Regions from separate parts of the Homo sapiens genome. Here all the other regions are linked to region 4. Evidence: promoter capture Hi-C in human tissues and cell types (Jung and others, 2019). All regions are on one chromosome and are shown on one strand. Each heading gives the region's core, a stretch centred on a gene start or on the middle of the fragment in contact. The rest is flanking DNA. Distances are from core to core; before and after follow the strand shown. Region 1 overlaps ZNF629 (zinc finger protein 629). Region 2 holds the start of SNORA30 (small nucleolar RNA, H/ACA box 30). Region 3 holds the start of SEZ6L2 (seizure related 6 homolog like 2). Region 4 holds the start of ZNF771 (zinc finger protein 771).

The links. Contacts are between HindIII fragments. The study calls those that stand out against the background at their distance.
Region 1: a fragment that was not itself captured here is called in contact with the fragment with the promoter of ZNF771 in region 4 in 1 of the 25 tissues and cell types used here (adrenal gland).
Region 2: a fragment that was not itself captured here is called in contact with the fragment with the promoter of ZNF771 in region 4 in 1 of the 25 tissues and cell types used here (spleen).
Region 3: the fragment with the promoter of SEZ6L2 here is called in contact with the fragment with the promoter of ZNF771 in region 4 in 2 of the 25 tissues and cell types used here (IMR-90 fibroblasts and neural progenitor cells).

The regions. Positions count from the first base shown.
Region 1 is chr16:30,777,252-30,780,675 of GRCh38, forward strand. ZNF629 (zinc finger protein 629) reads right to left here. Exons shown (of 3, transcript NM_001080417.3): 3 at 1,205-3,424. Among named protein-coding and RNA genes, the nearest start is that of ZNF629, 8.2 kb to the right of the region's middle. The HindIII fragment of the contact is 5,594 bases long and covers 1-3,424 here.
Region 2 is chr16:30,709,455-30,712,790 of GRCh38, forward strand. SRCAP (Snf2 related CREBBP activator protein) reads left to right here. Exons shown (of 34, transcript NM_006662.3): 7 at 59-281; 8 at 397-674; 9 at 1,300-1,393; 10 at 1,545-1,634; 11 at 2,117-2,290; 12 at 2,381-2,703; 13 at 2,808-2,985; 14 at 3,225-3,336. It overlaps SNORA30 (small nucleolar RNA, H/ACA box 30), which reads left to right and starts at 1,083; the gene lies at 1,083-1,211. The HindIII fragment of the contact is 4,122 bases long and covers 1-3,336 here.
Region 3 is chr16:29,898,037-29,901,455 of GRCh38, forward strand. SEZ6L2 (seizure related 6 homolog like 2) reads right to left here and starts at 1,514. Exons shown (of 18, transcript NM_001243332.2): 1 at 905-1,514. The coding sequence starts at 983. It overlaps ASPHD1 (aspartate beta-hydroxylase domain containing 1), which reads left to right and starts at 2,452. Exons shown (of 3, transcript NM_181718.4): 1 at 2,452-3,419. The coding sequence starts at 2,936. RefSeq lists an enhancer at 1,412-1,706 and a silencer at 2,070-2,499. The HindIII fragment of the contact is 10,220 bases long and covers 1-3,419 here.
Region 4 is chr16:30,405,780-30,408,883 of GRCh38, forward strand. ZNF771 (zinc finger protein 771) reads left to right here and starts at 1,827. Exons shown (of 3, transcript NM_001142305.2): 1 at 1,827-1,885; 2 at 2,266-2,415. The coding sequence starts at 2,275. RefSeq lists silencers at 1,551-1,730, 1,753-1,962. The HindIII fragment of the contact is 10,608 bases long and covers 361-3,104 here.

The DNA.
Region 1 (3,424 bases), core at 164-2,663, 370 kb after region 4:
CCTTCCCCGAGCTCCTCCAGGGGCTCCACACTGTGGGCTCTGCTCTCTGCCTCTGTCTTCCCATAGTCCCCTCTCTGCTCTAAGCCCATACCCAACTGTTATGCACCCCTGTCCTCCATCCCACCCCCAGCCGATACACCTACTCTTGGGTCTTCTTGCAGCCCTCATCCTTCAGGTCACTTTCCCCGGAAAGCTTCCTGACCCTCCACTGTGGCAGGCACCATCTCTGGGTCCACAGCCCTTCTGCGAAATCTCTGAGGCAGTCACTGCCCTGTGTCTGCTCTTCTGCTGTAGTCACTTTCCTGCAGATTTCTCCAGCACTGGGACTCCTGATAGACCTCAGTGTCCCCAGGGCTTGGCACACAGAGAATGTAGAGTAGCCTTCATTACTTGCTTCTCCTCTCCTCCCACCCCCCTTTCCAGGTGGGGAAGGGAAGGAGACACTGAACCTGCCCTGGGTTGTGGTCAGAGGGGTACAGGAAAGGTGGGGAGACACTTTCTGGCTGGGGCAGGATTCCCCCAATCCCCCATGGCCAGGCCCAGGGCCCAGGAGACTGAGCACTGAGGCAGGCCTGAGATTGGGATGGAGTGGGCACAAAACATGCTTGAGTTCCTGGCCATTCTGGTTTCCTTCACGGACTTGCTGTGGATCTTGGGCAATTGGCTGCCCTTCTCTGAGCCTCGCCTCTCCACACAGTGAGGGCACAAGGGCTGACATCCTGGCAGTGATGACAAGCCAGGTCTCCACCCACCTCTCCCAGGGTCCCCAAGTGAACCAGGAGTGGTGGATGCCAGCTTCTGAAACTAGATCCTCAGAACTTCCCTGTGGCAGGTTGCGGGTATGGTGGTCAGAGAGGCCTCCCTGGGGCTGCACAGCTGGGCCTGAGCTGGCCAGCGCCAGAGCCACCAGGCGGCCACTCTGCAGTCCTGCTGGTGGGAAGGCCAGGCACCGATGAGAACAGCTTAGCTTGGCTGCCATCTCATCAGATTTATCCCTTTCCGCACCAAGGGACTGCAGCTTAAAACTTCATAAACTCTTCAGCTTCCCACAAGCCAGCAATGGATGGGGATTTTAGGGCCCCTGGGTGAAGGGTGGGCCTGGGGCTGGGCTGAGCTTTTGCAGTCACTCCTGGGCTCCGGCTTAAGGTGAGGCCACACTCTTTCAGCTCACTTTAGGCTGAAAGAAAAAACAAGAAACACCCAGGAAATCTTATTCCCTTTATTCTCTTCAACTAAGCAACATGACCACCAGTGACACAACACTGTTTTGGACACACAACACTCAAAAATGGGGCCTCTCTTCACTCCATGGGGACAAGTCCGGTGACTGGGGCTTCCCTAGTGAGGGCAAAGGAGTCTGGGAGCTGCTGACCTCAGGGCAGGTCATGGAACCCCACCTCTTGGCTGTGATGGCTTCAAGTTTCCCCACCATTCAGGATTCATGCCCAGTTCCAAGTTCCCATCTGACCTCCATGTCCATAGCAGTTTCAAGTTTCACTCTAAGCTCTCCCCTCTGCTTTCCCCACTGACTCCCTGACCCTATCTGTTGGGCTCCTCCCTCCACCAGGGCGTTTCTGAGGGGCCTGGGGCCTGCATGTGATTGGACAAGAGGGTTTGGCTGCACAGTGCCTTCCAGACTCAGTTGTGGTGAGCAAATGCTTTGACCCCTGGGCCTTCATCTGAGCCGATCTGAGCAACTCTAGCCACTGCCACCTCCCTGCTTCAATCCTCCCAAGACGTAGCTCACTCTGGGAGGGAAGCTCCTGGTTAAAGGAGCTTGGGGAGGTGGGCAAGAGAGAACACGCCACACCCCAGAGGTATCGAACCCTGCCCCTTTCCTACCGCAAGACGCCTGACCCTACGAACTGTGCGCTCACATCATCCATCCCGTACAAGAGCCAAGCCCCTTAGCCCTCACCCATCCCTACAACATGTGAGCATCCTACTAAATATGCTACACCCTAGTCCGAAACAGGCCTGCGCCGGCCTTCAGTCACACTGCCTGCCTCCCCCCAGACTGGCCTCTGAGCCCCAAAAGCTGCTCCCCAGGCCTCTTCTGGGAACAGATTCCTTAGGCCTGTTTTTGAGAGCATCTGCTTCTGGCTTTGCGAGAGGTTTGTCTTTACAACTTCAGTTTCTGCTACCATCTTGGGGAGGGGGACATCTCCTTAGACTTGGCAGACTTCTCATTCTTACAGGGCACCCCCTTCGTTGGCGTTCTGTTAGGAAGAGACCCACAGGCAGCACCCCCCTCAGTAGTGCTTCCCTTCCTGGCACTTGGATAGGCTGGGGCGTTATGCAGATGGCAACATGGTTCTCCGCACAATCCTGAGGCCTGCCTTCTCCCTCTCCCCAGCAGGCCTGGCGTTTTCCTCCCACAATGTTTGAGATTTTGATCCTTTTAAATGTGAGGGTCATCCTGCTGGGGCCAGGATAGACAAATGGCGAAGGATTTGCATAAAGGTTGTGTGAAACTTTAGGTCATGGAATTAGAGGTCTCTTCCACAGCTTTGCAAAAATCTGGGTCACCCCTCTCTTGAGACGTGACTCCTGACGGGCCCCACAGCTGGCATCTCAGTCCTCTTACTCCAGGACAGCGCATTACTGGGGTTGGCAAGCACTTCCTTTCTGACCCAGCGCTGAGCAGAGTCCTCTCCTTTTGAAGGGGTCTCCAGGATTAGGGAGTGGGAGTCTTGTTACAGATGTTTCATTCAAGAGTTTTCTGTCTTCCACCATCTCATAGGGCAACAGTCTCTCCCCAGCCACATATGCCCAGGCCTGTGAGCAGGCTTGGCTGTTTATGAATGTGTAACTGTGTGGTGTGGGAGGTGAGATGGGCCTGGCAAGGGAGGCTTTCTCATCCTTCTGTTTCCTTCTGAAGGTTTCTGGCTAAGGAGGAGAGGGGAGCCAAGTGAGTGGAATCCATCCCATCCATCTCAAGGCTGAGATTGGGCTGGATCTCACAACCCTGGAGGGCTCCAGGTACCAGGGTGAAGAGGGTGATACGGCCTCTGCGGACTCTTCAGGGACCTGTGGCTCAGTCTGTGGGGTGTCTGGATCCCCACCAGGGAGGAGGGCTGCCTTATCCTGCGGGGCAGCCTTGCTACCAACAAAGATGAATAGCTGAAGTTTAAAATCAAGTTGCTGGCTAATCAAAGCTTTCTAAGAAATTCTGTGGCCCTGATGACTTGGAGAAGGCTGGGGAGGCCCACACGCAGGCCCTAAGTCTCTGAAGGGCTTTATTCTTTGGAGGTCGACTAGCAGCGGTTCTCCCTCTCCACTGAGGACAGAATTTGAGGAAATGAGCTGCCACTGGCGGCAGTTAGATTTCAGGAAAAACCTCCTGAAGGTGAGACCTGAGAATGTGGTGGGAGGCAACCGCCATCCCTGGAGGCCTTGCAGAGTAGAAGTCCCTGGCTGGGCA
Region 2 (3,336 bases), core at 486-2,985, 300 kb after region 4:
AAAAGTACATAAATAAAATGGTTATCTTGGTGAGCAGTCCCTTTCACATCTGTGGCAGGTGGTGCAATTCAAGCAACAGTCCCGGCTTGAGGAAAAGCGCAAAAAAGCCCTGGACCTGCATTTGGACTTCATTGTGGGGCAAACTGAAAAGTACTCGGACCTTCTGTCTCAGAGCCTCAACCAGCCATTAACCTCCAGCAAAGCAGGCTCTTCCCCTTGCCTCGGCTCTTCCTCAGCTGCCTCCAGTCCTCCACCCCCTGCTTCTCGCCTGGATGATGAAGGTGTGTGTTCTCTTTGGTCCTGTTACTCTTCCTCATGTACCCTTTCCAGAGCTGAAAAACCCACCCTGTGGCTTGCAGGGCCCGTGGACTTTGTGACCTTGTTCTCCTGCTATAGATGGGGACTTTCAACCCCAAGAGGATGAGGAAGAGGATGATGAGGAAACGATTGAAGTTGAAGAACAACAGGAAGGCAATGATGCAGAGGCCCAGAGGCGTGAGATTGAGCTGCTTCGCCGTGAGGGAGAATTGCCACTGGAAGAGCTGCTCCGTTCCCTTCCCCCTCAGCTGTTGGAAGGGCCTTCCAGCCCCTCTCAAACCCCCTCATCTCATGATAGTGACACCCGAGATGGGCCTGAAGAAGGTGCTGAAGAAGAGCCCCCTCAGGTGTTGGAGGTATAGGCAGAAGGAGCAGAGGGAGGGTTCAGAGGGGGAACAGAGGGAGAGGTTCAGGGTCTGAGTTCCGGGCTGTGAGGTTGGTTATGAGTTTTAGGAGTTCTGCTAGTAATGGACATTTGGGCTCTTTGGGGATGACTGGGGAAGAATCTGTTTGGGGCAAGTTGCATTTTGTGATTGGCAGGTTTTGGCGCTATAGTGGAAGAGCGTATTGCACTTTCCTCTTTAAATTGCTGTGTGGTCTTGAAAAAGTACTTCCTCTGACCGTTACTTGCCACTTCTCTGAACATGCCCTAATGTTCCCTTATTGGCTTACAGGTTGGAAGCTGGCATGGTACCCTTAAGTCTTTTCTGTTTCTCCATATGTCTCAAGTGCATGGGGAAGTGTTGGGTGCCTTTATTTGTTACCTGGCACTTTCACAGTTCCTTCCCCAGGCAGTGGGGCCAGGATTTGGTAGCTGGTGCTGAGAGAAAACCCTTGATTGTATTCTTGCCCTGGGATTATACCAGTGGCAACTGTCACTCAATGGGACAGTGATTCTCCTGTGACACCTTTTTCAAGTTTGTGCCATTCTTCTGCTACTGTAACCTTAGACCCTTCCCTTTTTTATCTTTTGCCATACAGATAAAGCCCCCACCCTCTGCTGTCACACAGCGCAACAAACAGCCTTGGCATCCAGATGAAGATGATGAAGAGTTTACTGCCAACGAAGAGGAAGGTCAGGGCTGTTCGGTTTGTCCTATTGCCCCTTACCCCTTGAATGAATTGTCTGGACCTAACCTTTCAGGCTTTCTCATCTGTTTCATTTGGACTGTGTCCTGTGCCTCTAGCCTCTATCCCTATTAATCTTGCTTCTGTCTCTTTCCTAGCGGAGGATGAAGAGGATACTATAGCAGCTGAGGAACAGTTGGAAGGGGAGGTGGATCATGCCATGGAGCTGAGCGAGTTGGCTCGAGAAGGTGACATTTACCAGACATTTTACTAAGCATCCACTTGGTGTCTGCGGTGTGCAGTACCAAGGATAAAGAGATGAATAAGGCACTTTGTATCCACCCTGGAGGAATTCCATGTCTAATGACTAAGACAGACTTGTAAACCAGTAATGATAAGTAGAAAGTGATGAGTGCTTATGATAGAAGTTTAAATGGTGATGTGGGAGTGAAATGGAGGGAAGAGCTAATGTAGGAAGATACTGACAGCATTTGACCTGGACCTTGAGAGGCTCACCAGGTTGATAATGTTCTTCCCAATTCCCATGGTACTTCCCCCAGGTTGTGGGGCTTGGCTTTGCTAGCTGATGCTGAAAGTAAGCTCTTTTGCCTCCCCTCAGACCTGGGCCTAGCAGTATCTACAGAGACCTAGGTAAAATTAACTGGTACTACTCAGACCTCCCCTTCTCCCTCCCCTCAGAGCAACCAAAAGCTTTTTGTTTCTCTTCCAGGTGAGCTTTCCATGGAGGAGCTATTGCAGCAGTATGCAGGAGCCTATGCCCCAGGCTCTGGGAGCAGTGAAGATGAGGATGAAGATGAGGTTGATGCTAATAGCTCTGACTGTGAACCAGAGGGGCCCGTGGAAGCGGAAGAGCCTCCTCAGGAGGATAGTAGCAGTCAGTCAGGTGAATATGTGGTCATGAAGCAGGAGCTGGGGAGGGTGGCCATTGGAAGAGCAGGTATGATGAGCAGTAAGCCTTGGTCTTACCCTTTAGACTCTGTGGAGGACCGGAGTGAGGATGAGGAAGATGAACATTCAGAGGAGGAAGAAACAAGTGGAAGTTCAGCATCAGAGGAATCTGAGTCTGAAGAGTCTGAGGATGCCCAATCACAGAGCCAAGCAGATGAAGAGGAGGAAGATGATGATTTTGGGGTGGAGTACTTGCTTGCCAGGGATGAAGAGCAGAGTGAGGCAGATGCAGGCAGTGGGCCTCCTACTCCAGGGCCCACTACTCTAGGTCCAAAGAAAGAAATTACTGACATTGCTGCAGCAGCTGAAAGTCTCCAGCCCAAGGGTTACACGCTGGCCACGACCCAGGTATCCCCAGGTTCTGGCCTCTCCTTTCTCATGTCTTGACTTTCTCATGTCCCCACAACAAATGCCTCATTTCCATTGTGTTACCTATATTTCCTCTCTGACAGGTAAAGACGCCCATTCCCCTGCTTCTGCGGGGCCAGCTCCGGGAGTACCAGCACATTGGGCTAGACTGGCTGGTTACCATGTATGAGAAGAAGCTTAATGGCATTCTTGCTGATGAGATGGGGCTTGGGAAGACCATCCAGACCATCTCTCTGCTTGCCCACTTGGCTTGTGAGAAAGGTAAGTAGGCAAGGCCCCTTCTTTTGTTCCCCCTAGTCTAGCTCCCTGGGAGCTTGTTCAGTGATGACTCCAGCTTCATTGACTTTTGCTTTATTGACTCCGGTCATTAACTGTATAGAGAGGACAGTGTAGGTGCTAGGATTCCTAGGAAGGGCCAAAGGGTGGCCAGGGTTATAACTGAGAAATCAGAACCACAGAATTTACATTTCCTTACCATCTCTGATTTTTTTGCCTAACAGGTAACTGGGGTCCCCATTTAATCATTGTTCCCACCAGCGTGATGTTGAACTGGGAGATGGAGTTGAAACGGTGGTGCCCCAGCTTTAAAATCCTCACTTACTATGGAGCCCA
Region 3 (3,419 bases), core at 264-2,763, 510 kb before region 4:
CCAGAGAGATATTTTCTAGAACTCTTCCTCCCTCCTCCATCAGCTGGGCCTGCAGGGGCTCAGATGGTCCCAGGCTCGACTGAGGGCCAAGATCGGAGGAGGGGCTCCCAGCTGCCCTCATACTCCCACTCCCACACCTCTTCTCTCCCCTCCCCTCTCCCTTCTCCCTGGGCTGTGTGGGCCTTCATTGAACACCTTAGCTCTTATGGACCCTGGACAGCGCCAGCAAGGCAGAGGGGTCGCCGGTGCTGCCTTCCCTTTCACCTCAGTGGTGATCTCCCCCCAACCCTGGGGCTCTGCAGAGGATCTGGCCGCACCTCCCAGCCCTTGCTTCCGCAGTGCCTGGCTTTCTCTCTGGGTTTCTGTCTCTGCAGTGTGGCTGTCTTTTCTCTCTCTCTCTCTCTCTCTCTCCCCCCCACCCTCTCTCTCTCTGGTCCTCTGCAGTCTCTGCCTCCTTCCCTGGAGTCTGGCTGGGGGTCAGAGTGGGGGACTGAAAATCTGGTCTTTGAGCCCTGCCTCTGCTCATCTGTCTTTGTCCATTCATCCAAGAACAGTTGTGTGTACAGCGCCTGGCATCTCTCTCAGCACCTCCATCTCCCACCCAGGTCCCTCCATGCTTCTGCCGCCTCCGCAGACATCCCCCCAACTTTCCCAGCCCTCCTTCTTGGATCTAGCCCCTGAGACACTGCTAAAAGCTTCTCTCATTCATTTCTCTGCCTTCTCAATATTGAGGGTTAAGGGGCTTCGGGTTCAAGCCTGAAAGCTCTGGCTTGCCCCTTCCCCATCAGCTGTGCCTCTCCCCTCCCCCATGTGCTCGGAAGACCCAGGATATTAAGAGAAAGGAGGGTGGAGGACCCCGCTGGACGCCTTCCTGGGGCCCACCCCCACAGTCTCATGTCCTTACCCTGGATCCAGGGACAGCTCAGCAGAATTAGGAACAGCAGCTGGGGAGGCGGCGGGTGCTGGGCCCTGGGAGTCCCCATGGCGACTCACCCCGATCTCTCTCCTCTGTGCCTCTCTAAGTAATCTGGCTGCCACCTTTCCTCCGTCTCCGTTTATCTTTCCCTTTAATTGTTTTTTTTTTTTTTTTTTTTTTCCTCGTAGGAGTCAGCAAAGAAAGACAATTTCTCTGCCCCTTGGGATGGAGGGGCAGAATTGGGCTAGGGGTCGCCTGGAGCCCACCCCCCTTTGCTCAGTCTCCTCTGTCCTCTTCTCGCGGCTCTGTGGTGGAGGGGGCGCGGCTCCGGCTGCAGGGGGTGGGGCCGAGAGGGCCGAAGGGGCCGGGTGGCCTGGGTTACCCTCCTGCTCAGGCGCCTGGGTCCACTGGGCTGTCTGGACCCCAAGCTAGGGGACTGGGGAGGAGAAAGACAGCTTCTGGGGGTTTAGGGTGGGGTCGAGGATCGAGGGGGTCTCCACTGGGCTCTAGCGGGGCTTGTCGGGGAGGGGAAGGGGTGGGTTGGGGAACTGGGAGAGCCGAAGCTCGGGCACTGGAGCTGCGGGAGGGAGAAGCTGAGAAAGGTATCGAGCCCACGTCAGATCCTGGGGACGGGCGGAGGGAGGGGCCTGGGATTTATTTGACGGGGAGGGAGGAGGAGGAAGTGCAGATGGAGGAGGGAGGGATCATACGAGCCAGGGCCGTAATCCTCACTCCCGCGGCCCCTAGGGGAGGCAAAGGAAACTCTCTGGTCCCAGCAGTAATTAGCCCCCTCCGCCTGCCATTCCAGCACATCTGGAATCTGAATCTCCTCTTCCCAGGGTGCCGAGGGGCTGCATAGCTTGGTTCGCGCCTGCTAGGCCCCCAATTATGCCCCCTGTTCACATTCAGACCTCCCAAGGGGCTTCCCTTCCCCTTTTACAGTAGCTCGGGTGGAATGGGCTCTCCCTCCTCCAGGGGAATAGAGAGCTTCCACGATTGTGACAAGTCTCGTGGGTGACGGGCCGGGGTTTGGGGAGGAGAGACAGACCCCTCCTCTTCCATAAACCCTGACCCCGGCCAGCTAACAGGCGGCCTCGGCTCTGATTTTCCCTCCGGAGCGCCCTTTTCAGCACCAGCGGCGCGCGGACAGCTCCCCTCGCCCCGCCGGGGCGGGCCCGGCCCGACGCCGCCCGCGATTGGCTGAGGCCGCTTTCGGTGTTTGCCAGGCTCGCGGGCTCCCGGGCTGCCTAGGGCCAGCGGGAGTCACAGGCCGACCGACCGACGGACCAGCCGCCCGACGGACTGGCCTCAGCATCCTTGCCCGCAGTCCCGGGCGCCTGCCCAGCCGTCAGTCCGCGCTCGCCCCGCCCCTCAGGCCCCGCCCCTCAGGCCCCGCCCGATACGACCCGCCCCTTCTTTCGCATTGCGGGACGGCTGGAGGCTGGCACCGTGGCCCCTGCGCCCCACGTGGCGCCCTTTCCGGGCGGGGGGGGTGGGGAGGCACCTCCAGCGACAACTCTCCCCCCTCCCCCGGCACCCGGCTGATTTGCTGTGCCACTGGGAGGGTTCGGGGGTGGCTGAGCTGAGAGGGCTCCGGGAAGGAGTGACGTCAGGGTGAGTGGGAGCCCAGGAAGGAGCGAGTAGGAGAGAGGGAGCGAGAGCCAGGCAGGACCGCAGGGTCGGGGCTAGTGAGGAGCGAGGGCAAGGAGAGAGCAGTGAGGCCGGAGAGAAAGAAGCTGCCGCGGAGGAAGACAGGCTGCGGGTTCCCGGGACTGCAGGTCCAGGCAGGGTAGGAACCGCTGCCCAGGGGAGCTAGGAGGAAGCGGGGAGAGAGAGCGAGCGAAAAGCGGGGGTGGGGAGGAAAGGGGGAGATTGAGGTGGGAGAGAGAAGCAGAGCGAGAGAGAGGAGGCTGCTGGAAGGAGAAAGAAGAGGGTGAGGAGGCGACAGAGGGAGAGGAGGAAGAAGAGGTAGAAGGAGAGAGAAAGGGGAGAGAAAGGAGAGAGGAGGGTTGGAGGTGCATGAAGGAGGGGAGAGGGAGCTTCAGCGTGGAGAGAGGACCGCGGAAGGAGAGAGAGACAGCCCAGAGTGGAATGTGGAAGGGAAACAGTCCAGCGGGGAGCCAGGGGGCAGCCATGGAAGGGACAGGTGGGGAGCTGGGGGGACAGGGGAACTGGGGTCCGGAGGACGCCCCAGGCCTCTTGGCCAGGGCCTCCCTGATCATGCTCCCGTGGCCACTACCCCTGGCCTCCTCGGCCCTCACCTTGCTCTTCGGGGCCCTCACTTCCCTGTTCCTCTGGTACTGCTACCGCCTGGGCTCCCAAGACATGCAGGCCCTAGGGGCTGGGAGCCGAGCTGGGGGTGTTCGTGGTGGGCCTGTGGGATGCTCGGAGGCCGGCGGGCCAAGCCCAGGGGGTCCTGGGGATCCCGGGGAAGGACCTAGGACGGAAGGCCTAGTGAGCCGGCGGCTTCGGGCCTACGCAAGGCGCTACTCCTGGGCTGGGA
Region 4 (3,104 bases), core at 577-3,076:
TCCAGGCATTTGACCCCTTCTCCCAGCTCTGGGAAAGAGCCAGTTTTATAACTTCATTCCTGAGAGGTAATTTGGTGCAATAGAAGAGCACAAGCTTTGAATCTGCTGCTTGCCAGCTGTGTGACTTTGAGCAAATTACTTAACTTGTCTAAGCTTCCGTTTCTTCTTTTGTCCAATGGAGATATTATTGATCCCAACAGGGCTGTTGTAAAGAGACAACATAGAACTTGTAAGCACTTACTGAATGTTATTTCTGTTTTCCTTCATGATTTCTGAATCTTAGTTGCCCCATTCATAAAATGGGAAAATTAGATATCTGCTTTTTCAAGGGAAGTGGCTGTTTTTCAAAGGAAGTGGCATTTGTTTATTCCACTAAAAAAAAATCTATTTTTATATGAAATATCCCAATTTAATTTTTTTTTTCTTGAGACGGAGTTTCGCTCTTGTTGCCTAGGCTGGAGACCAATGGCATGATCTCGGCTCACTGCAACCACTGCCTCCCCAGTTCAAGCAATTCTCGTGCCTCAGCCTCTCGAGTAGCTGGGATTACAGGCATGCACCACCAAGCTTGGCTAATTTTTGTATTTTTAGTAGAGACGGGGTTTCACCATGTTGGTTAGGCTGGTCTCGAAATCCTGACCTCAAGTGATCCACCGGCCTCCGCCTCCCAAAGTGCTGGGATTACAGGCATGAGCCACCGCGCCCGGCTTTGAAACGATTTTTTTTTTTTTTTTTTTTTTTTTTTTTTGAGACGGAGTCTCGCTCTGTCGCCCAGGCTGGAGCGCAGTGGCGCGATCTCGGCTAACTGCAAGCTCGCCTCCCGGGTTCACGCCATTCTCCTGTCTCAGCCTCCCGAGTAGCTGGCACTACAGGTGCCCGCCACCACGCCCAGCTAATTTTTTGTATTTTGTTTAGTAGAGTCGGGGTTTCACCGTGTTAGCCAGGATGGTCTCTATCTCCTGACCTCGTGATCCGCCCGCCTCGGCCTCCTAAAGTGCTGGGATTACAGGCGTGAGCCGCCGTGCCCGTCCGAAAAGATTTTTTAAAAGTAAAAATACCCTAAGGGCCAAACAAGGTACCCCTGTGGACTGGATTTAGCTTTGGGCTGTTGTTCACCTAGGCTACTGATTGTCAGGGATGCTATGACATCCTTATCGTGTAACTTAGGCAAATCAGTTTACCTCCCTGAACTTCAGTGAGCTCATCTGTAAAATGGATCAGGACCCATCGTTATGCGGATCAAATGAGACCAGGTATGTAAGACGCTGAACAGCGCTGGCGCATGGTAAGCACCCCACGCATGACGCGACAGCGGTAGCTTGGGTGGATGTTGAATTGGTTAGGATGTATTCAAGGATATCCCAGAGGCCAGCGGAATAGGCGAAGCCGAGAAAGATGGAGAAAAGACGGCAGAGGAGATAAAGAGGGAATGGAAGAAGTGAGGAGGCAACAGGGTCCGCCCTCCAGGCGGGGCGCCAGGGAGAGGCCCAGGCCGGGGCGGGAGCGCACGTGGCCTATTTCGGGCGGAGCAGAGGCACTGGGCGCAGCGGAGACCTCCAAGCCGGCCCCAGGAGACGGGCCGCGAGGTTAGGTTGGAACTCGGCGGCAAGGACCTTGAACGCCGGGCTGGGGCGGCTCCAGGTGCTTGGGAGTCGGGGGACTGCGGAGGACGCCAAGTCTGAGCTCGCCGCCCTCTCCGAGCCGTTTGGGCCGGACGCCTGGGTCCTTCGGGCTCCGCCCCAGGGGGTGGGGCTATATGTTCGGACCAATGACCGGCCGTCCCTGCGGTCCCGCCCCCTCCCCGCCCCCGGAGCCGCGGCCTCGCTGAGTGCCCAGCCGCCCGGCGCCCAGGCCTGGGGCACCGCGAGTGCCGAACCTTCGGCTGGTGAGTGCGCACCCCCTCCCCGGGGTTTCCGCCCCGATCCCGCCTCCAGCCCGTGCCCCAGAGCTCCAGGTCGCCGACCCGGGCCCTGGGGAGTGACTCAGCGCAAGGATGGTGGCGACTTGCGGGGGCTGGAGATTCGAACTGTTCAAGGCCTTGAATGCTGGGATGAGTGGGGTGAACGCGAGCCCTCGGAGCTGGTCCCGGGGCTGTGCCAGAGCGTGGGGCCGGGCTGGGGTGGACGGGAGAGGACCAGATTCGGAGACCAGGGCAGGGCGGGAGAAGCCACGGCTGCACTGCCTTGCTGGGCCAGGGCCACGGTGGGCGGGGGGGGGGGTGGGGGGGGGCGGGTCCTGAGCTTCTGATCCAGCTCCCCGCCTCAGGACACCAAGATGCCTGGCGAACAGCAGGCAGAGGAAGAGGAGGAGGAAGAGATGCAGGAGGAGATGGTGCTGCTGGTGAAGGGTGAGGAGGATGAGGGTGAGGAGAAGTATGAGGTGGTGAAACTCAAGATCCCCATGGACAACAAGGAGGTATGTGTCACACACACCCTGGGGCACACTGTCCCCAAACCTGGTCCAGGCCCAGCCTCCCTCAGATAGAAGCCAGGGATCTTGCCCCTACTTTTCCCAGAATCTCGGATCTAAAACCTCAGGATTGGCCCATCCTTCTGCCCTACTGCCTGGGCTTCCATCATACAAAAGTCACGCCTACTGTCCCAGGCTTCCTGCTGGGTGCAGGAGATTAAACTCCGTCCTTGGATCCCCCATGGAGCTTGATGTTAGACTGAAGGGTAACCACACAGTTAGAATCCCGTGTGATGGCTGCAGGTACAGGGGGATGATGAAGCCTAGAAGTGGGAACTTAACTCAGATTTAGAGGTTGGGGAAAGGTCAGGTTAGTTCAACAGCAACAGTAACAATAGCTAACCCTTGCCTAGCATTTTCTATGTGCCAGGCACTGTTCTAAGCACCTCGATTCTATGATGTCGGTAGCATTTATTCCATTTTACAGATGAGGAGACTGAGGCCCAGGGCAGTTTGGTAACTGGCCACAGGTCTCAAAGTAAAAGGATGGCTTATGTGAGACTAGTAGGAGTCTGGGGTCAGAAGTGGGGTGATGGACCCAGTCAGAGGAAATGGCTCTTTTATTATTACTGTTGTTATTGTTTGAGACAGGGTCTCATTCAGTCACCCAAGCTGTAGTGCAGTACAGCTCACTG